Regions from separate parts of the Homo sapiens genome. Here all the other regions are linked to region 5. The links are contacts of gene promoters, found by promoter capture Hi-C in blood cells and fetal thymus (Javierre and others, 2016). All regions are on one chromosome and are shown on one strand. The core of a region is centred on a gene start or on the middle of the fragment in contact, and the rest is flanking DNA. Distances in the headings are between cores, read along the strand shown.

What was found. The method cuts DNA at HindIII sites, captures the fragments that hold promoters and counts their contacts. A CHiCAGO score of 5 or more calls a contact.
Region 1: a fragment that was not itself captured here is called in contact with the fragment with the promoter of FHIT in region 5 in 7 of 17 cell types (non-activated CD4 T cells, naive CD8 T cells, total CD4 T cells and 4 more); the score reaches 20.2 in non-activated CD4 T cells.
Region 2: a contact is called between a fragment that was not itself captured here and the fragment with the promoter of FHIT in region 5, in 3 of 17 cell types (activated CD4 T cells, naive CD4 T cells and non-activated CD4 T cells). The highest score is 6.4, in activated CD4 T cells.
Region 3: a contact is called between a fragment that was not itself captured here and the fragment with the promoter of FHIT in region 5, in 1 of 17 cell types (activated CD4 T cells). The highest score is 5.6, in activated CD4 T cells.
Region 4: a fragment that was not itself captured here is called in contact with the fragment with the promoter of FHIT in region 5 in 2 of 17 cell types (monocytes and total CD4 T cells); the score reaches 9.1 in monocytes.
Region 6: a fragment that was not itself captured here is called in contact with the fragment with the promoter of FHIT in region 5 in 5 of 17 cell types (non-activated CD4 T cells, naive CD4 T cells, total CD4 T cells and 2 more); the score reaches 8.9 in non-activated CD4 T cells.
Region 7: a contact is called between a fragment that was not itself captured here and the fragment with the promoter of FHIT in region 5, in 5 of 17 cell types (total CD4 T cells, naive CD8 T cells, total CD8 T cells and 2 more). The highest score is 7.9, in total CD4 T cells.

Annotation. Positions count from the first base shown.
Region 1 is chr3:59,446,404-59,449,702 of GRCh38, reverse strand. The region is part of intron 5 of CFAP20DC-DT (CFAP20DC divergent transcript); the gene reads right to left. Among named protein-coding and RNA genes, the nearest start is that of CFAP20DC-DT, 360 kb to the right of the region's middle. The HindIII fragment of the contact is 3,429 bases long and covers 70-3,299 here.
Region 2 is chr3:59,462,779-59,466,176 of GRCh38, reverse strand. All of the region lies in intron 5 of CFAP20DC-DT (CFAP20DC divergent transcript), which reads right to left. Among named protein-coding and RNA genes, the nearest start is that of CFAP20DC-DT, 380 kb to the right of the region's middle. The HindIII fragment of the contact is 1,696 bases long and covers 1,196-2,891 here.
Region 3 is chr3:59,368,824-59,372,130 of GRCh38, reverse strand. All of the region lies in intron 5 of CFAP20DC-DT (CFAP20DC divergent transcript), which reads right to left. Among named protein-coding and RNA genes, the nearest start is that of CFAP20DC-DT, 280 kb to the right of the region's middle. The HindIII fragment of the contact is 708 bases long and covers 1,450-2,157 here.
Region 4 is chr3:59,297,781-59,300,700 of GRCh38, reverse strand. The region is part of intron 4 of CFAP20DC-DT (CFAP20DC divergent transcript); the gene reads right to left. Among named protein-coding and RNA genes, the nearest start is that of CFAP20DC-DT, 210 kb to the right of the region's middle. The HindIII fragment of the contact is 890 bases long and covers 1,065-1,954 here.
Region 5 is chr3:61,249,764-61,252,936 of GRCh38, reverse strand. It overlaps FHIT (fragile histidine triad diadenosine triphosphatase), which reads left to right and starts at 1,485. Exons shown (of 10, transcript NM_002012.4): 1 at 1,485-1,636. It overlaps LOC124909387 (a long non-coding RNA gene), which reads right to left and starts at 1,345. Exons shown (of 2, transcript XR_007095939.1): 1 at 1,310-1,345. RefSeq lists enhancers at 1,388-1,682, 1,747-1,806, 1,937-2,066, 2,207-2,336, 2,617-2,896. The HindIII fragment of the contact is 4,935 bases long and covers 166-3,173 here.
Region 6 is chr3:59,428,807-59,431,781 of GRCh38, reverse strand. All of the region lies in intron 5 of CFAP20DC-DT (CFAP20DC divergent transcript), which reads right to left. Among named protein-coding and RNA genes, the nearest start is that of CFAP20DC-DT, 340 kb to the right of the region's middle. The HindIII fragment of the contact is 2,035 bases long and covers 545-2,579 here.
Region 7 is chr3:59,410,053-59,413,377 of GRCh38, reverse strand. All of the region lies in intron 5 of CFAP20DC-DT (CFAP20DC divergent transcript), which reads right to left. Among named protein-coding and RNA genes, the nearest start is that of CFAP20DC-DT, 320 kb to the right of the region's middle. The HindIII fragment of the contact is 1,643 bases long and covers 976-2,618 here.

The DNA.
Region 1 (3,299 bases), core at 535-3,034, 1.8 Mb after region 5:
TGAGTCACATTAATGTGCCTGCTGGAAATTGTCTTAAGGCAGGAATGATAGCCTATTTTTAATAAAGCTTACAACAACCACCATCCCTAAATTGGGTCTGTGGTGTTATGCACACACAATGGACTCAATGCAGTAAACATCTGTTGAGAACCTACATAATCCTCTGTGTTTCTAGACAAGAAAATGTTTCAAGAACAGAATCTTAGTAGAGCGTACATATGAGTTTCTGGGGTGGACTTGTCCTCAGGCTGTGGCAGTCCCTGTTTGCTCGGAACCCCTTCCAGCTCCTTCCACAGCTCCTCCTCTGGTGTGTTTACTGTGTATTTTCCTTCCAGCTTGTTTACAATCACAGCCCTGGCACCTGGAAGATTTTCCGTGTGAGTTGAACCTAGATGGTCCCAAGCAAATACGAATCTTGCCTGTATTTAGAGATCCAATGTCTAGACTTCCATAAGCTGATAGCCACTCCCCTCACAACCACCACTGATACATACTGAGCACTTATTTTGTGATGGGCACCATTACAAACCTTTGTAGGCAGTATTTTGACTCCTCACAAACCTCTGAGAAAAGTATATGGAGAGAACAAACCCATTTTACAGCTAAGGAAATTAAGGCTCAGAAGTGCTGTGTTTGCTGAAAGTGAATGATCAGAGCTGTGAGTACAGCCTGACTTGCCTTTTAACCATTCTCCTCTACTGCCCCTCACGGAGGCCATCTCCCAGGGAAGGATGTTCTTAACAACTAGGGCACTTTCATCACAAACTGTAAACCAGTGGCTGCTATACAATTATGTGTGTGTGCAAGTAAATTATTGATGGGGACTCTCGAGCTCATACCTCTCTTGAAAAGGGTGTAGTCTCAAAGGGTTTCTATAGTTTTCTTCAGGTAGTAAGCTCCCTGGGCCTAGGAATCAGGTTATTTCGTGTATCACTATCTATTCAGCACCTAGCATGCACCCAGTACTTTGTAGGTTTAATCATTATGTGTTAAATGAATAAATGAATGCGTGGGGCTTTGGTATAATCCAAGAGAAAAGTCACGATTATAAAACAAGCTAGAACAGGATGACCTCCACAGAGTAAGGGCCATGGGGTGTCAGAGATGGATTAAAGAGGCCAAAGGTCACTGGGCACAGTGGCTCATGCCTGTAATCCCAGCACTTTGGGAGGCCAAGGGGGGCGGATCACAAGGTCAGGAGATCGAGACCATCCTGGCCACCGTGGTGAAACCTCGTCTCTACTAAAAATACAAGAAAATTAGCCAGGTGTGGTGGCACGCACCTGTAGTCCCAGCTACTTGGGAGGCTGAGGCAGGGGAATCACTCAAACCCAGGAGGCTGTAGTTGCAGTGACCCAAGATTGTGCCATTGCACTCCTGGCAACAGAGCAAGACTCCATCTCAAAAAGAAAGAGGCCAAAGGTCTATGTGCAAGGTTCCAAGGTGAGGCTCAGCCAGGGGCCTGGGCAAGTCTGACCCTCTGCCACCCTGCACCCCATGGGAGACATGGAGGGAATGATACCCAGAGTTTGGGGGAGGTCAAGACAATATTAAGAGTGCCAAGCATATTAGTGTTGGCTTCAGGGAGAAGGCAACATCAGAACCGTGACCAGATTTAATGAGGAGATGGAGGAGGTATTCTTTCTAAGCAGAATAAATGGTCTAAATACAGACGAAAGTTGGGAAATTACGGGGCAAGAACAGGAAATAGCATGGTTATTTGTCGGTAAGCAAGAGTGTGTGGAAGGAAATAGGATGGGAAAGTTGAGTGGCACTCCAGTCCAGCTTGAATCCTACACAAAGAATGGTGGGGTTTATTCCATAGAAAGATATTCTCCAGATTGGGGAACACACGTGTTACTCACTGGTGTACATGCATGGTGCAAGGTGGTACAGAGACCGCCTACCTATCAATTCCCCTTCAATCTTTGATGAAGCCAAGGAGAAAGTCTCAGTTGATGTGGGTCTATCTATAACAACTAATCCATGATAATTATACTAGTCAGGGTCTCCACAGGAGAGGTATGACCTATCAAAGCAGGATAATCCAAGTGGGTGTCATAAAGGGACAATCAGCTAAGTATGGGTACAGGGGAACCACAAGGGCAACACACTGACCCAGGGCTTGTAAAGGGAGAGCTGTCACCATTTCCAGGCTTGAAGGGACAAGGGGAGGGTTTAAGAACAAGCCATGTTAAAATGGGCAGCAATCTTTTGTCAGGGGATACTGCCAGGCTGTGGTGACCCTGCAGGGAGAGAGGCAGGGAACAAAGCCCTGGACCCATCGTTCCCTCCTTCCTAGACTCTGCTGGGCTGCCATAGGCTGAGGCCAGCTGGAAACCAGAAAGTAAGGGAACTCACTGACCTGTCCTCGGGCTCAGCCTCCTGGGCAGACAACAAGAAGAAGAGAGAAAAATAGATCTGGAGGGACAAACAGTCACTGAATCATCACCCACCTTTGTAAACACAGAGAAATCAGGCTTCAGGCTTTGAGCCTCAGGCAACACTATCTTGCTGGAAGATAATACTTTTGTTTTCATTGCATTTATTTTTATAGTTTCTATTATGATAGATGGTACTGGTTTTCCATTTACTTAGAGATAAAGTTTCCCTTTAGAATACATTTAAGATTTTTTTTTAAGTGAGCCTATTTAAAGATAAATATGAAGTAAACCACAGCACAGATGGAAAGGGAAAATAGCAAAGATAATGGAGGTGGTATGACTAATGTTTGGGAAAGCCTCATAGAAAACAGGGAGCTATGGACAGGTTTTGAGCAGGAGAGCGATAGGATCAAGGCTCTGCTCTGGGAAGCTAAACGTAGCTGCAGCATATACAATAGACAGCAGGGAGATGGGAGGTAGGGAGGCCGTAGGCAGTGCCAGTGGGGCTAGAGAGGTGGGGATGCAGGGGAGAGGATTACGGGAGAAAGAGTAAAATCAACAATATTTAGTCAGTCATTGCATGGAGGGTAAGCAAGATGCAAAGCAAAAGATAATAACTGCTGCCCAAATTGCCTTTAAAAACATCTATTTCCAGGAGTATTAGAACTGATGCAGGAAATAATGTGACAGCAATCCAAGTCTACTAACAGGTAGAGTGTTTATGTCATTCATCTCCTACGAGGTCGTCCGTGATGAAAGGAAAACACAAACATTTATCTAATGTATGCCTATGCCTGATGTTTCTCCAGACAGCTGAGCTTGTTTTTCAGATTTGTAGCAGAAAAATTGGGAAGGTCAACCAGGCTTGGCATAGAACACCAGGAGGGCAATTTTCATGCCTTGGATCAGCACCAT
Region 2 (3,398 bases), core at 794-3,293, 1.8 Mb after region 5:
CACCAATCATATGAACTAATGAAGTAAAACGAAGGCAGCATGCTTGGGAAGGGGATAGATGTTGGAGGACGAGGGAAGGTTAACTCATGTTTTTGTAAACTGAATATAGTGCAGGGCCACATGTGATTCAGTCTCTCTAATTTATAAACTCCACAATTACTCCAGAACCTCCCCAAATCCCTTTCTTATCTTTCCATGGAAATGTTCTCCAATCTCTAGGCCACATGATCCTGAGAAACAGACACACCAAGATCTACATGGAAACACACATATGTATTACACATATGTGCTGACACACTTGTATATACCAGGCATGTATACATATAGGTGGATATATACCTATACACATGTGTTTCTGTATTGCACACACATTCAGTTCCCAACTTCTGCATCACAAAAGTCTACATCAAGGGTGTCCAATCTTTTGGCTTCCCTGGGCCACATTGGAAGAACTGTCTTGGGCCACACATAAAATACATTAACACTAACGATAGCTGATGAGCTAAAATAAAAAAGTCCCCCAAAATCTCATATTACTGGTGAAGTGTCTTGACTACAAGTTGTCCAGGTCCTTGGCATTTTGAACAAAGTATTGAACACCACACACAAAGTAGAGAGGAATGATATGCAGGAACGAAGCAGCAAAAGCGGGAATTTATGAAAGTGAGAAAGCACTCCACAGGGTGGGAATGGGCCCCAGCAAGCGGCTTAAGGGCCCAGTTACAAAGTTTTCTGGACTTTATCCCATTTGAGGTTCTTATCAGCTATCCCGATGAAGGATTTGGTATGTGGCTAATTAAAGGCTGAGGTGAATTGGTGCCCTATGCAGATAAAGGGATGGTCTCTGCTTGGCCCTGCGAACCCAAGGCACTCTCCCTTTCCATCTGAGACATGGTAGAGTGAGAGGGCTGTAAGGAAAGTAGCCTTTGATCCTTTGCTATTCTGCCGGGGAGATGGAGTTTTTCCTTTAGGTTCAGCTTTAGGAAGTTGGTGTTAATAGGCCTTAGGTTTCCTGCCCCCAGACCTTGATGTTTCTCTTTTAGGAAGTCAGCACAAATTGGCCTTAAGTTCTCTGTCTCCAGACCCTATTCTCCTGCCTCAATAATGTTTTTAAAATATTTATGAATTTGTGTTGGGCCACCTTCAAAGCCATCTTGGGTCACTTGGAGCACGTGGGCTGCGGGTTGGACAAGCTTGGCCTACATAATGGATCAGCAAAAAACAAATAACAACTGGACTTAGTTGAGAGAAGGAAAATTGGGCCACCAAGAATAAAAGTTTCTGGGGTTTGTTTAATAGGGCTGGGGAATGGTAAAAAAAAAACAAAAAACAAAAACAAAAAAACAACAAACCAAACAAAACCCACTCCTGTGTTGATAGTTTTGCCCCGATCATAGTTATTAATCTTTTCTCTTTTTTTTCTCATTTTTCTGTAGGTTCTTCAGCTATGCCACTTCCCCTCTCTCCATGCCTAGATGGGTTATGCTGACTTTCTACTTTAACTCTTCTTTCAAAGCCAAGCGGTATCAAAATAATCACGTAATTCCATAAGAAGTGTTCTTCTGCAGGAAGAAAGTGTAGCTGAGATAGTTAATTTTCCGGACAACACAAGAGTTCCCTTTCAAATCACTGAAGTCAGAGGCATCTGATAACAAATGGAGTGTGCCATTTTTCTGAAGCGAGAGACAACCCTGGAGCTGATTTTCTGTGTGTGTAACAATGGTGTCTACAGGCAGAGCTGAGCCTCCGCACAGGAGTCTGCACATCTTTGCGTCTGAGACAGTTGGTACAAGTCAGAACAATTCACTGGAATTCCCCAAGGAATTAAATCCTCCAGGATCTTTAAAGGCACAGACATAAAGGTGCCATTTTAAAACCCCAAAGAATTTACACCAAACTTTTTAACATTCCCGTGGGTCTTCGTTAATGATCATATGAGGTTTCCTTAAGTAGCCTGCAAGGAGGGACCTGGGGGGAGTCTGATATGTAGAATATGAGAGAATCTTCAACTAGGGAAGCACCTAGAGATAGGTGACAGTATCCCAGCGGTGTGCAGACCCTCAGGACAAACATGAAATATCTTCTTAAACCTCAGTCTAACCAGAAGATTTAGGGGAAGACCCAGTAGATAAAGTAGTGGAAAATTGCCATTTGTTTTGAATTACAACACAGGATTCAATGAGGTTTAAGCAGTGTAGGGGCCAAAGGAAACTTGGCCCTCTGAAGGTTCACTGAAAAATCAACTCAAAAGGCAGATTAATACAAGAATAGGCATACACATTTATTTAATGTGTATACACAGGGTCCTTCAGAATAAAGACCCAAAGAAACAGAGAAAATTGTCCATTTTATGTTTAGGTTCAACAAATTATGGACAGTATGTGTGGAAATATGATTGGAGGAAAAGGCTATGATCTAATGCTAATAGGCTGAGTGGGGAAACCCAGCAAGGCTGTCTGTCTAGATTCTTCTTGGTCTTTCTGAGCAGCATTCCTTCCTTCTGGGTGTGGGGCAGGACCCTCTCTGGAATAGGGGCCTTGTGACCTACAGTCAAACAAGGTGGGGCAGATGATTTATGGCCAGCTTTTGTACAGAAAAGCTGTACAAAATTAGAGGGAAAATTAGAGTAGTATTTTTAGTTTTTTATGGCTGGCTTTAGTGAAAAGGGGCTTGGGTTTCTGTGGCTCATGATGGGGAGGACAGAGTCTAGTTTCTATGGCTAGCCTTGTGGGGAGAATAAGTCTGTGAGACAGGAGGGCAGAGAAAAACGTTTGCCTCTGAGGCTTCTGCCGAAGCCTTCATTTGGGGATATCGTTTGCTAAGCCCCAACAGCAGTATACTTTCATTCTCTTCAGCTATTACGGATAATCGGGGGTAGCCTTTGAGAAGCTTCTCTGCCTATTCTAGAGCTTTCAAATTCCATCTACCCATCTATTTGGGTTCATAGACTCTGCTTTTCTAAGATGGGCATTAAAACTACATATTTGGTTTACATCAAAGGATGATTAAAGAAATCAGACACCCATTGTTACTGTTGTATTTGTAGAAAGATGTTGTCTATTATACCACCAGTGACTCTCCTGTTTGAAGGCTACATTTGCAATTTATTATATATTTCTGTACTTCTTTGGAAAAAAAGAGTATGTTTATTTCATTTTGACATTGAGAAGTATATGAATATTTCCCCCCTTTTCCCTTTGGCTTCCGGAAGGCTCAAAACCAAGCTTGAAACAGTTAACAATATCACAGATCCTGAGATCTTGCCTTGTTAGTGTTATTCCTCCCCCCATCATAAACTTTTCCTCTAATTTATATATTTCCAGCCCATGATCATCTTTAAGTGTCTATATTTCTTAATCATTTTGTAAAGTATGTTTTTATATTAAAAGCTTCAATCC
Region 3 (3,307 bases), core at 554-3,053, 1.9 Mb after region 5:
CCTGCCTTCCCCTAAAGTTCTTCCCCATAATGGAGGTGTAAAAAAAACAATCAAGTGCTTTGTTTATTTCTTAAACCCAGTGTCTAAACCTAATGTTAATTATTGAGTAACAGCTTCACCTGGTGAGGGAAAAATAAACACACACACAGGAAGTCATCCAGTTTTTATTCTGAAAACAATACAGGTAACAAATCACAACTGTATTGTTTTCCCTGGGATGCTAACACAGATGTAACAAATGTGACAGAAGGAACAAATCACTATTGAAATCGCTAAAGCATTCAATCAAATAATTTTTCCAGACCACAAAATATCCTATTATGTGATGGTGACAAGTGCCCTTCAGAAGCCTTTAGTGCCTTCCAAGTTTCTCTGTGTAGCAGCATGAAGTGACTAGTCAGCAGGTACACCACATGGCTGTGAAAACCGCCCAGCTTTACACAACCAGGGAGAGTAACCATCTCCTTAACATTCTCATATCTGACGCTTAGTTTCCCCATTCAGATTTTCTTGGCTTAATGTCCTTATGTGACTAGTTTTCATTAGCCATTTCACAAATCTCTTTCCTCTTGCTCTTTTATTTTCTTCTATGGCTTTGGAGAGGGGTGGGGAATGGCAGATTTTCTAGAACTCCAATCTTTTGACTTAATTTATGTTTCCTACTTGAAAGAGTCCATTTCAGCAGGAGGCCCAAAGGGCTGACGTGGTTTCCCAGTCCAGATCAGAAAAGCCCCGCAAGATTTGACTTCATGAGCACTCGATACAGACAGGTCTACTCTCTTGCCCATTCAAGGGCAATTATCACAGATTTTAAATGTTGGACCTATTTTTAGGGCTCTTTCACTTAACATTAAGTAGATGGCCAATAAAAGGGATAATAAAAGGGATTTAATATTTAAAAGGGTCAATAGGTAATTTCTTAGGCCTTAAAGGAGACAGTAGCATAAAAATTATGAACTTGTTTGGATACACTTAGTTTAATTTCTATGTAGCTTCTTCAGAGCGTAGAACTTACTTATTGGGGTTGGAAACTACATTGGAGAGAAAACTGTACATATCCTAATGTCATTTTTTAAAAAATAATTTCATTTGGATTGAAATATTGTGTTTTTTAAGAGGAAAGGTGTTTTGTGTTTGTTAATAAATAGGTCAAAGAATAAACACAAGGAAGAAATGCAGAATTGCAGGACTGTACTCTGTTCTCATGAGCCACTTATTCTTTGATTGGATATAAAGGGCAAATTGGTTGGATATTAAATTCAGTGTGTACAAAACACAACAGGAGAGCTGTGTCCATCCTCACATCTCCGGCCTGACTTGGGAAGAGAGAGTTAAGTGCCACATTCCCCAGTTGGAAGGCTTTGATCTCAAATGGCCTCATTGCTAGGCCTAAGATGCCTCAACTGGAGGTCAACATGGACATCACTGGACATTGACAGTACAGAAGCTTCTAGACCAAAAGGAAAGTCATCAGAATTAACATAAAATAAACTGATGTATTCATATATATCTCCTTTTGCCATCATAACACCGAAAAAATACTTCTTTAACTGAGGTGGGCAAAATAGGTGATAGTAACTCATTTGACATGTGGGAAAATGAAGATTAAGTAATTTTCTACTAGCTCCCAAGTAGAAGAGGTCCAAATGAAAGTTAACTCCAATTCTATGTTGTCTCCTAACAATTTTAGAAGAGTCAGTTTTCATTGTAAGTATAACCATCCCATTTATCAGAACTTTCTTTCTACCAATATGGAAACATAACGTTTCCACCTTTCTGTCAATTCTGATCCATCGGTAATAGGAGACATCACCAATCAATCACAGCACTCCATCCCACTGGCACAAGACACAACCTGAGAATCCTTCTCTACCTACTTCTCCAAGCAGCCACTTCCTGACTGGGGTGAATGTGTGAGAATTTTTCCACCAGCACCAGAGGAGCTGTGAGGGCATGCATGGCAGGAATTTGACATCCTTGGTGTATCAACTCCTAGGTCATCAGTAATTGTATATATGTAAACAGCTCAACTAATGTCCTCAAATTCAGTCATCCAGTTGCCAAAGTATATTAGACACTGTGGGGAAAAGCAGTAGGGGTCAGGCATAAGTCTTATCTACAAGGCGCCTACATTCTATTAGGGAAGAACACTAAGCTTGGAAAAGCCTGTACTGCAGAGTGGAGAATTCTTAGTACCAGTCATCAGTGCTCTGTTCACAGAAAACCAAAGGAGTTCAGAGAAAGGTAGGATTACCCTCAGCTGAAGGGTGCACAAATAAAACTTCATGGCTTACATTGGAGCTGGGCTCTGCAGACCAGGTATGACTTGACCACGGGAGTGAGGAGGAGAAGGAGGAGAAAGGAATATTCCAGACACATCAAAAAGGCACAGAAGCAGGAAAATATAAGGAGTAGGTGGGAAACAGTGAATAGTTTGGTATTAGACTTGCAAGTGCTTAGGGATGGTAGAAAATAAAACAAAGAGTAAGTATGAGTCAGAGTAGCAGGCACTGTATACCAGGGTAAGGATTTGGAGATATATTTTATGGGCAATGGGGAGTTAATGATGGCTTTGAGAAGATGGGCGCTGTGATGAAACCTGGGCAAAGGAACAAGGTCATGAGCATCATGGAGAATCAGCTGAGTGGAAACAGGCCTGAAGCTCAAAGGGCATTGCAGAGGAGAATTGCAACTCCCAGCCTCACGTTGGAAAACTTTAGTGCCTCTTTTAGATAGTACAGCTGTAAGAGAAATAAATACTTCTGACCAGCTTTAGTACCTGCTTCTCTCTCCTGTATTCAGATTCTGTGTTGACCTGACCTGGAGGGATCTGGCTGCCACTTAAGGGAAGATAAAATACGACCAGCCCAGTAATGGAAACCAGCAGCACAAATGCAACTTGCTTCCTCAGCTACAGAAAAAAAAATACATCAAGAATTCTCTCTGCTTCACCTGAGCGGGAGTCCAATTTATCTGCCAGCTCAGGGCTTCACTATCTTTATGGAGCAGGGGAGGGAGAAAGAGGAAGAAGAGAAACAGGAAGAGGAGAAAGGTCAGGGCAAGGCACAGAAGTGTTTCACCCCAGAGAACTTAGGGGCAGAGGACAAGCTCCAGAGAACTGGCAACCAGCATTTACTGAACAATTTTAGACTACAGGTGTTTATCAGTGTTATCTCATTTAATCTTCAAAACGACATCATGGACAGAATACTATTATCTTGACATTACAGATAAAGAAATCCAAACTCAGAGTCAGTGAAACCAAACAGAACCAGCTGAGAATTTTTCAAGAGCAAAGTTGCTTTCC
Region 4 (2,920 bases), core at 260-2,759, 2.0 Mb after region 5:
AACACACGAAGTTCCTGACTGCCAGGGAGTTCTTTGCCCTGTGTCCGCTCCACCTGGCATATTTTTCCTCTATAATCTGCTCATCTTATTATTTAGGTGTTGGCTTAAACACCACCTCTTCAGACTTGCTTTTTCTGACATCTCTGTCTAAAGCAATCCTCCAGTCCCTCTCTATGACAACATTCTACTTTTTATTCATAGCACTTATCACGATCTGATATTTTATGATTTATTTATGTGTTTATTGATTTGTTTTTTCATTCCTGCCATTAGAATGCAGGCTCCTTGAGTGCAGCAATTTTGTCTGTCTTATTCTTTGGTGAATCTCCAGCACTTAAAATGATGCCTAACATAAAACAGAAACCAATAATACATAAACACATTTATCAAATAAATGATTTTATATCCACATGATGGAGCCCCTTAGATAAAGCATACAGATAATTTAATTTCTTCTTTTATATTGGATGGAGTGTCTTCATCACAAGAAATATACTCTTTATTGAGTAGATGAGGAATGTTGACTTCATTTATGCCATACTTTTGTAATTTTATTGACCTTCGCTATTGTGGTCTTGCCACAGCTAGCAGCTTGTTGCCCACCCTTTTCAAGAATGAGAAGAGACGTTTTGATTTGGGTCCTATTGTAAGCTGCAAAAAAAAAATTTCCCCCATTGGATACATTCTGAATTTTTCCCCTTGTACCTATTCGTATAGCACCAAGATCTAGTTAGTTTCATAAAACATTCAGAGGTCAAAGTTTCTGAATTTGCAGAGGGATGGCTTCCTAGGACTTATTCTCAAGTCTATCACTTCATGTACCAATAACTATAAAAACAAAACCTAACCTACATGGGGCCTGGGATAAGTAGAGTAATTTAATTTAAAAGATAAATTATGCCAATAATGTACATTATCACATGCCGAAGAGTCACCAACCTGCTTTAGTTCAACTTTGTTACCAAATTACTCATCTTAATTACTGTCTTCTTCTTTTCCTTATCTCATTTTTCCCTAGTCATATTAATGGTCACATAATAATATCAGACAATGTTCACTAAGCTTAACTCTAAAAATAATGGCTGTTTTAAATCAGAGTTAATTAGTATGTCAAGAAGTTCAGGTAATTATAAGGCCACGTGATTTAAAAAAAAAAAAAAAAGAGGCATTGGGAAAAAAAGCCACTTTACCAAATGCTACACTCATGATTCTATAAAGTATTTTTAATATTTTTCTTAATATTGCCACTGAAAACTAAGTAACAAATTCTTCAGAAATCATTTATCATTGCTAACTACAGGCGAGTGAGCTCCCCCTAATCCTGCAATCACCGCAGAAGATAGATTTAACATTAATTTATGAATCGCAGTGTCGTTTCTCTTCTAGGTTTAATAGTGAATCATGGCATATACTATTTATATTTCATCACACATAAGGAAGGTTGTCAAGAGCAAAGATCAGAGTAACACAATTCTCTTTCCCATCCTCATCAGCAGCTCCTGGAGAACACACACTGGTTTGAGGAGAATTGGAAGGCACATTGTCCTTGGATCTATGTGGGAAGTGTTCTGGGACTTCAAGGGGAAGGAGCAAGTCTGAGGGATGCCTCAGAGAGCTGCATACATTTGGAATGAGCATCATAAATAGAAGACCTGCTCTTGTGGGTATCATGGCCTGCAGACATCCATCTGTGGGCCCGCTGAGGGTACCTGTGACCTCTCTCTCAATCCTTCACAAAATAATCACAATTGCAGTAAAATGGAGAAAGAAAAAAAATGATTTGCCTTTGTTTCAATGTTTCCTGAAATACATTACTGCTAGAAAAATAAGCCTTATCTCTTCAAAGTCAACACTAACAAAGAAGCCAAAGGTGGGGGAAAAAAGGGAGAGCTGGAAAACACAAGTAAGACGAGCCCCTCAGTGCAGGGATAGATCCTTAGAGACATATGAAGCTTTGGGTCATTGGGTTAAGTTGTTAACAGGGCAGCAGAGAGATCATGAACAGGCAGACCTGGGACAACCTGCCGCCGGCAGTGCTGAGGGTTCCGCTGGGGAGCAGGTTGAAGCCCTCTATCTCATGACCCCCTGCGAAATCTGAGGTAGCCTGACTTCAGGTTGCAAGACGCCAGCCTACAATATTGCCTATTTTCAACTATATCAAGTTCTCAAGCTCAGGGCAAAATTGTGAACATTTTCAATCTATTAATATTTATTGAGTACCTGCTAAGTTCAAGGTACTATACCTATGGACTGCATAAAAGTACCTTTGCTTTGGGCTCCTATGACTGTCTTTCTGTTCCTTGTAACAATGTGTCACACTGATTATAACTGATTGTTTAACTGTCCATCTTTACATCAGAGCTCAAAGCCTGGAACTGTGTCTATCCTGATCCCATTACCTCTCCAAGGCCTAGTACATAGGAGGTGCTAAAAAAAAATGTGTTTGCAGGGCCAAGATGGCAGACTAGAAGCAGCTCATGTGTGCCACTCTCATGGAGAGGAAACCAAAGGGCTGATGACGACTGACCCTGCAGGCCAATCATCTGAGAAACCATGTCAGGATCCATCAAGGCATCAGGGGAACACAGAAAGCAGAGGAGCAAAGCTGGGCAACAGCCTGTCTGGGCTCAGTGCAGGGCCAAGAGAACCACTACAACACAGGAAAGAGTAAGTGAGTGAAAGCCCCCTTTATTGTCCATATTGTCCATAATGTTATCAGCATTTTGGGCAAAGCCATTCAACAAGTCTCTAGGGAGTTCCAAACTTTCCCACATTTTCCTGTCTTCTGAGCCCTCCAAATTGTTCCAACCTCTGCCTGTTACCCAGTTCCAAAATTGCCTCCACATTTTTGGGTATTTTTCCAGCAACTCCCCACTCCCAATACCAACTTACTAAATTAGTTTGTTTTCATACTGCTGAT
Region 5 (3,173 bases), core at 236-2,735:
ATGCACAAAATCAGTCTGTACATATATTGCTCACATTCCTGCTGTTTTAACTATATTTTTTTTTTCAATTTCACTTTGTTATTCACAATTTGATAATATTTTATGTGGCCATGGTGTCTGTGTGATGAACTATAATCCAATGTGACATTCTCTGAGAGTCAAGCTTCCAAGGACATCAGATTTTCACACCAGGACACTTTGTAGGACACCTTGCTACTCTCCATGGGATTCAAATATTAGAAATAATGAGAGATCTAAGACTTGATGTAATTGCCTGCATGTAATGAATCAGGCCAAATAAAAAAGTGAGAGACAGAGAAAGGAAATGGTGCTAAGGAAAATGGGGACCTATCTTAGTGTTTGTCTGAGAGAAAACTGCTCTTTGTTTTTCCCGATGTAATGGCAAGAGTCTGCAGCCAGGAATCTAGTCCTTGCTTAGGAGCTGCATGACCTTGTGAAAATTACGTAGGTGTTCTGCAATTTGTAATTGCATTTATTGTAAAATTAATTTTACTTTTCATACGTCACTAGACAGAGCATTTTGAGGTTAGGAATTGGGTCTGAATCAATGATTTCTCCAGCACCCACATGGCATTTGGCACAGAATACATCAATAATGATTTTGGATTAAACAGGGGAACAAGCACAAGGAACCATGGTGGTCAGAAACGGGTTGATCTGCACCAGAGAAAGGGAGACTAGGGGAGAAAGGTCACTCTAGATTTCGTTCAATTATTGAAAATACGGTGTATTTACTATGTGCTGGGCACTTTTCTAGGTGCTAGAAAGACTACAGTGACCAAAACAAAAATCCACATCTGCAGGGATCTTGCATTCTAGTGAGAAAGTAAGATGGTAAAAAAGATAAATACGTAAATTTTATACAATGCTTCGTAACGACAAATGCTAAGGAGAAAAACAGCACAGAAAAGACAGAAAGGAAAAGAGAAGGGGCGCATGTGGTGCAATTTTGTTAGGATGCCAGGGAGGGCTGAGCGTAGTCGTAAATGACCACATTATTTGATGGATCAAGCCAGGGACTGCAAGTCTGTGTTTCTGAGAGACACATAAAGAAAAGAAGGCTTAAGGAATCCAGAAAGATCCAGAGTGGGGAAATGAAACGAAAAGAAATCCAGCCAGTGGGAAGTCGTGAAGGGATAGTTAAACGCGTTTTGGGAGGAAAGAAAAAAGCAAAAGTGCGGTACAGCCTTTCGTTACACGTGAAAAGAATCATGTTTCTTTTTCTAGTTAGAAAAAGCCAAAGATTGTGCGATTTATGCCCCAAACCCCCTTGTAAGGGGATTCTCACCTCAACTTGTCTTCTGTGGTCAGTGTTTCCCGCCCCTGAATCAGGGTTACTGTCACTATGGCTTTCAATTGGCCCGGCGTAGGCGCATGCTCTGCGCGTATTGGCCTCCGCTCCTGTCCCCAGACAAGCGGCCATCTTGGGTCCCGCCCCTACCGTGGGGTCTTCTGGGAATTGCAGTCCCCGCTCTGCTCTGTCCGGTCACAGGACTTTTTGCCCTCTGTTCCCGGGTCCCTCAGGCGGCCACCCAGTGGGCACACTCCCAGGCGGCGCTCCGGCCCCGCGCTCCCTCCCTCTGCCTTTCATTCCCAGCTGTCAACATCCTGGAAGGTAGGGGCGGGGAGGCAAGCCCAAGTGGAATACTGTTTCTGGGGCGCGGGTCTGGGTTTCCACGCGCGTCAGGTCATCACCCCGGAGCCCAGTGGGGCCGGCGCCGCTCACGGGGCGGTGGGCTTCTGTCCCGAGTACTCTTCCGCCCCACGAGGGTCTCAGGGTGGGGACTCGGGCCCCCCAATTCCCAAGCACCGACCCTAGCCCTAACCCGTTCCTCCTCCACCGTGTTTATACATTGGGGAAACTGAGGCACGGGGCCACGCCAGCGGGTCCGGGGACGCCACAGCTCTTGGCTCTGGGGGTGTAGTCGGCACCCGCCGTTTTGGGATGGTTCGTCAGTTTCATAGACAAGTAGCGAAAATCCGTCCCAACAGGTCTGTGTTAAACACGCAGCTCTGGATTCCCCTAAGGGGTTGCTGAACACGTGCCCAGGACAGGAGCAAACCGGAGTATAGAGAAGGCAGCATTTTGGGAGATAATTTTACATTACTACTTCAAAAACAGGCAAAGAGGCATCGAATTTATTGTTGTGGGAGAACTCATCGGTACTTGGTCGGACTTTCTTACACTTATTTTATGGTTGTTGTTTTTATTTTTAGCGTCAAAGGGGGGAATTTTAAAGGTATATCCAAGTTGGTGGTGGTGGGGGGTAAGGAGGCAGGTTAGTGGAACTTGAGATGCATCTGCAGATTTCTCTGTAGGCTCACATTCTGCCCTCGCTGTGTTACCTTGGAACAGCCACTCACAGCGCTTATCTGGGAAACAAGGAGCTCAATGCTCCCAGGTCAAGTGGCCAAAGGATGTTGCCTGAAGCCGAAATCTAAATTGAGGTTATGCTTGTGAAAGTTTACCACTTGCAGATTTACTGCTATTATTATTCTGGTCTCTCAGAAATGTGCTGGGACCAATAGAAAATACTCACAGTGGTTGTTTTAGTAAGGTTCTGACCTGGGCCGGGCCCAGACTACCAAGGGTGGTCCCTACTCGCACCTGATGTTAAGCCGGATCTACCTGAACTCTCCCTCCTTGGCTTCAGCCTGCGGCCTGAGGCCTTGGCCGCGGAGGCTTCTGGGAGTTGCAGTCCCGCCTCTTGTTTCTCGTCGGGCAGGTACTCCACCTCGTGGCGTGCCATTTTGCACGGCGAGATGTCTCCTGGGAGACGAAGTCTCGCTTCTAGCCGTTCTGTAGAGCAGCCGCTTGACTCGGAACTACAACTCCCATGTGGACCTGCGTTCATGGCTGCCGGCCTGTGTCCACCTGCTGCAACCTGGACTAGAAATATTTAGTAAAGAAAGAAGTCTAGGGTTTGTGTGTGTGTGTGTGTGTGTGTGTGTGTGTGTGTGTGTGTGTGTGTGTGTGTGTGTTGTTATTGATTGCATATGCTGTTCTAAGTGTTAGATATGGGATTGTTGTATACGGTGTTCCAAGTATTAACGTACATGCTTCCAAAACCACTAACACTTGACCATTTAGAACCTGTTCACATGATCTCTTTTTAATACTACATTTCCCATTTGTATATGAGAAAAAACTT
Region 6 (2,975 bases), core at 313-2,812, 1.8 Mb after region 5:
GGGTGTTTGGCCCGGTTCTGACCAGTGAGATGCGAGAGTCAATGTGCTGGACACTTCTGGAAATTCTCCCTTCTTCCTCTGGATGTTGTTTCAGATGGGATGTTGGCAACTATTGACAGCCATGAGGGAAGCCAGGCTGAGGCCCGGCTACAGGCTGCAGGGTGCCCTGCAGACGGGCAGGCAGAAAGATGGAAGAAACTGCGTCCTCGTGCTGTGGATGGGACCCGAGTTAGACAACCCTAGAACCTTCCTACCTTGGGACTTCTTGTAATGTGAAACAGTAAATGTTATTATCATTTAAATTATTTGAATCTAGAGTTTTCTGATGCTTATCGTCCAAAGCATTGAAATCACCTCACAACATCTCATGGCTCCTTCTCATCATAGAGGGCCATGTAAATGTCCCCTCCTCAGAGAAGCCTTCCCTGCTTCCACTAAGGAAATAGCCTGTGGCACCCCCCCACCCCCTTAGTTACTCTCATTAGCATGTATCACTATCTGTAATTCTTTTACTAGGCAGTTTCCCCTTGCTCAAGCATAAGCTTCCTGAGATCAGGGCGTTGTCTCATGCACCTGTTACCCCAGGGCTTAGAACACAGTCTGACAGCAAGTAACACCTCATAGACATTTATGGAATAACAAAATACTACTAATATTTAACTCGTATTTAATCACATTATTGTTTTATTATTAATATGAATATTTTATTAGAAAATTGAATTATTGGTAATTTATTAACAAAACATTAAAATTAATTATGAAGATTGCTAAAAGACATTAATATTTACTTCTAATAAATATGCATAGTGTTTATTATTCAAGCTAACATTTTTATATGTGTTCAGTTCATGCCATACTCAGTGCCTGAGCTTATTATACATCCCTCAATTAACCCTTATAATTAATTATTATTAGTAGTATTAGGTAGGTATTATTGTCATTACAGAAGATTATCAAAGTTCATTTTCTTTTAAGCAATCTATACTACCAGTACAATCTATGGCAATACAATAATAATGATAATAACAATATATATACTTAAAGACCAGCAAACTTAAATTGGACTCATTGTTTTGCACCCATGACCTTTCTAGTGGGAAACAGCACTGAACTGCAATATTTTTGTCCCAGTCCTCAGCCTCGCCTCCCTGCAGGAGGAACGTCTAGCCAGAAGACGAGGAGGGAGCATGCTCCCCAGGGGGACATTTCAGACCCAATTTTCCTCTGCAGATAATGATGGTTATAGCATCTGGCATCTGACTTGAGGCCTGCCCTTTCCTCCTGAAGGACACCCCGTGGTGACACACAGTAATTCTCCAACTCCTCTTGGGGTCCTAGACTTATGCAGAGAGGCTACAGCAAATCTCATGTTCTCTTTGATAACTTCTGTAAGAGCTGGCCAATTACCGTCTTCCCCAAGCGCGCTTCTGGGTTGCTGGTTGACTCCATTCCCACCCCCTTCCACCCCCAAGACTCCCCACCCTTTCAGCCAAAAATGTCATGTTCTGGTTTCCAGATGATCTCTGCTTTAAATTGAATAATTTTCTATAACACTATCTCCCTGTGCCAAATTCCTGCTGGTGTCTCAAAAAGGGCATATATGTAAGAAGTAATGAGCATTCCTTTAGGTCAATAGCCTCTGTCATTCTTTTCTAAATTTATTTTTTATTTTTATTATATATATACACGTACACCTATAATTGTTTTTTTAAGATAGAGCCTCGCTCAGTCATCCAGGCTAGAGGGCAGTGGTGTAATCTCAGCTCACTGCAACTTCTGCCTCACCGGTTCAAGCAATTCTCATGTCTCAGCCTCCTGAGTAGCTGGGATTACAGGCATGCACCATGTCTAGCTAATTTTTGTATTTTTAGTAGAAACGGGGTTTTGCCATGTTGGCCAGGCTGGTCTCAAACTCCTGACCTCAGGTGATCTGCCCGACTCAGCCTCCCAAAGTGTTGGGATTACAGGCATGAGCCACTGCCCCCGGCCCCTGCCTTCATCATTCTAACAACAGTTTTCAAAGCAACGATGTTTATCTTTTTATTTATAGTAAATTTGAAGGATGTATTTGGGATGATCTAACCTAAAATATATACTTTGTGGGCTCTGTAGCATCCCCAAAATTTACTGCAGGCATTCCTGGAACTCTTCAAAGAGATGAGGGGAGGGGACTTATACTTTGGTCCAAAGCTGTCCAATAGAATGCTCTGTGATAATGGAAGTGTTCCATATTTGTACTGAGCAATAGAGTACCCACTAGCCATTTGTACCTATGGGCCATGTAGTGGCTGGTATGACTGAGGAAGCAGAATTTTAATATAATTAAATTTTACAGCCACATATGGCTGGTGGCTACCACCATGGACAGCACAGATCTGAGGATGCCGATTGATGACAGAGTTGTTTCACGATCACAGCTGTGCTCCTGGGAGTGAAGCAGCAGTGAGGACACTTAATCATCTTCCTCTGCAACATCTAGAAACCAGCCAGTAGTTATTAATGATAAAATACATTATCATTGTATGTAATGATATATAACATGTGTAATGATAAAATAACAATACACTGTACATGAAGCTTTCATACCAGCTCACTTTAGTCTTCACAAAAGTCCTCTTAGGTCCTATCACAAATTTAGAGACCGAACAGTCATATTGCTCGACCGAAGACACAGAGATCTTTGGCTCAAGGTCCTGTGGCTCAATGTTCTGCTATGCACTGCTTGGTTGTTTTCTAATTTACAAAGATTCTATAAGCAAGATTGTTCCAGTTAAAGATCAGACAGCTGCCACCTAATCAGAAAGCAGGAAAAGTGTAGCTCAGCTTAGCTGCAAGGGCTCTGCTAGTGGGTAAGAGAAGAGAGGGTGAGAAGGGAGGGCAGATGAGATGTACAGAGCCTGGAGGACATGACGAGATGCAGACCACCACCACTGACTATGCTGGGCGCTGGCCACGGGGCTTTGGATTCATCCCAT
Region 7 (3,325 bases), core at 548-3,047, 1.8 Mb after region 5:
TTACAGACGAGAAAACTGAGGTATATAAAGGCTAAATAACTTGTCCTAGTCATCCTCCTAATAAGCCACAGAGCTATAGGTTTGGAGGGGAATTTGAACCCAATCCATATAACCCTATGGCCTTCTCTCTTAGCTGCTACACAATAAGGCCTTTCTCCCAAATAAAACAAAGTACAAATACATTTCAACACCCACTCTCAGCACATAAGTATCATGAAGAGTATGAAAAAAGTCCTTGTCCTCAGGAATTAACCACCATGAATAGACAAGCAAAATGAATGACAAGGTGTGAGCTTGGGGATGATGCCCCAGGCCCAGCTGGTGGGAGCTCTTTGAGACAGGTGTCTTTCATCTTTGCATTGCTGGCACCTAGCACAGAGCCTGGCTCCATACGTGTCTATTCCATGAACAGCTTGAGCTTTTCTTTGAAGGATGGATTAGATTCTTCCTGCCAGAGGGTAGTCTAGGAGCCTTTGCAAGAAGGGAGGATGGCTGAGCCAAGGTGTGTTGTGCGTGAGGAACAGAAAAGCAGCAGCAGATATGTCCATCTGGAACAGATCTTCACTTGCTGCATCCATTAGGACACCTTTCAGAGCCCTGCCTGGACGATTCATCACTGGATACCCGTTCCTTTAGCTCTGAAGTCCAGATTACAGGAATCTCTATTACCACTTAGTTACAAATCTTCTGATGACTAATGAGCTGCTGATGGTTTTAGACCGTTATGGACTAAGCTTGTTCACAGAAGAATAACGAATAAGGGACAGCAAATGGATATTTTAAAACCTTGATTCATTGGTCAAATGGAGACAATAACTAACACAATAGCAAGAGTGGCTTTTGGATGATTTAAAAATAAATATATCTTTCCTCCAGGCTCTAAAGCTCAGAGCCATCTTTTACTCAAGCTCCTTCTTTGCCTTTTCCATGAAATCAGCCACCAAGTCTTATGTTTGTAAGATATTTCTTGAAGCTTCTCTTTTCTTCTCTTTTCACTGCCCTGCACTGATATAAAATCATGACCCTAAGCCCAGAATATGGCTGAATGTTTGCACAAAAGCTCCCTTAGAAATCACTAGTGCAGGTCCCTCATTACAGAGACATGAAAGTAAGGCCCAGGGGGATAAGGGACTTTCCTAAAATGACAGGGCAGAGTTTGGATTATTCCCATTTTCCAAATGAGGAAACTGAGGCAGAGAAAGGTTAAGTAATTTGGTCAAAATTACACAATTAGTACATGGTAGGGCCAGATTTTACTATTCTTATAGGCAAGTCTACTCTCAGAACAAGTGTGCTATGTATCTTCTGTTCAAAAGAGTATAGTGTGGTAGAAATAAAATGAAGGTGCAAGTTCCAAATTCAAATCCTAGACCCTCTACATGCTAGCTGCAAGACCTTGGAAAAGTTCTTTTTCTCCATAAAGTGGAGATGATTATAGTTGTTTCCCCAGGTCATTGTGAGACTGAATGAGTCACGTGTATGGTAGGCCACACATAGTGCTTAGCTCATGGTAGTATCTAATAAATATTAGCCATGTTCTCCCTCAATGTTTGAACATCTAGGGTGTGAAGAACTTCTTAACTGAGTTACAAAGTTAGTAAATACTTATAAGTATTATTTTCAATGATTAATTCTGATTCTAAGATATCTCCTTTTGCTTCTTTACAGTATTTTTTTGAATGTGACTTTCACAAATTCTTTGACCTATTGCCCACCCAATTTGTGTCCTGTTATTAATGTCACATGAGAGGGGGTGGGGGATAGAAATAAATGTTGCCTTCCATGGCAAGGAGACAAGAGCTCTACAGAAAGGAAGGAACCACCTCAATCAATGTGAACAGAGGAAGGAAAATGGTAGAGTTTTAACAGGAGATTTTCCAGCATCGACCCCAGTAGGGGTACAAGGCCATGCCTCCTCCTCAATATCTCAGTCCCCTGTACTGCTTGAAAGAAGGCAAAGGTGATTCTTCCTGACTTGACAAGAGCTTGTGGTGAAAAATAAACACCACAGTTCAGTCAGGCCGTTACCATACCAACTGTAAGATCAGATGAACAAACATCTGAGAATGAATCAAATTACACAAAATCAAGAAGAAATAGATCTGCTGCAAGGTGAGTGGATGATAAAGGGAAGGCTTGATTGGGTTTCCAAGGACAAAACACTTGGGAAAAAATGATCTCTCTAGGCTCTCTGCATTGTTTTTCTTTCCCCCAATGCAACACATTTATTCACATCTCTGGACCTTTGTTCCTAAGTGTTCCAAGGAGTGTTCTCTGAATGAGAGTTTCAGCATCGCGTAATGTCAACATTGGCCAATGCAGAGATTGGGTAGAACTTCGAGTTGATTTGATCCAGCAGCTCCATCTCTTTTCCTGGGGTTCTTGTGAATCCCCTCTTCTCTCTGTGTGTTGGCTTCATTTTAGGTTGAAAGGGAGAAGGCTGTTATGGTTCTCGGCTTCACATCCATGCATGGCCCTGTAGTAGATTAGATTATTACTCAGAATATCACTTCCTCCCGATCACTCCCAGGGAAGTGTATGCTTTCCTACTCCACTGATGGCAGGCTTGGCCACGTGATCTAGTTTGGCTATTTAGCAGGTGGGCTTGATACTAAGCTTGGCCATTTGACTGTTTTTTGGCCAATGGGATGTTAGCAGATGTAACAGAGGCTAGGCTTGAGATATGCCTGTGTATTTCCACTGGTATTCTTATATCTCTGCCATCACCTTGAGAAGAACATGCACACTCTAGCCTTCTGGTCATGAGAAGGCATGGGAGACTTAGTGTAGAACCTAAGCTAGATGAGCTGACCCCCTAAACTCACTGTTGAGCCAAGAGACGATCAAGAGAACTGAGCTGGCCCAACTAGCAAGGCCTAGACCAGCTAACTAAATGCTCTTGTGGGGTTTTGCTATGCTGCGTTTTAGTGGCAGTAACTAACATCTGGTAACATCCAGTAATAGTAATATCCAGATCAGAAGAGAGAATCTCTTGCATCGTATTAACCTAAACCAGATCACGTGCCCAATCACTGGCAAGGAGGATGGGTTTATGCTTAGAAAAATAAGAAATTTTCCTAAAGCCGGGAGGGGTGAAGTCAGCTTTGCCTTGCATGTGAGCTACTTAGGGAAGAAGTGAATATCTCAGTAAAATTAGATATCTCTTTAACGGGGGAGACGGATGTTACAATGGCAACATCTTTCAACCCCACTGTTATCTGGACTCAATTCAAGTCCTGGGTCATATACAAGCCTACTGGAGGCCCCTAGCCTACCTTGTTTGCTTTTTCCTGTAGAGTCCTAACTGGACTGCTCTGTTAGTACA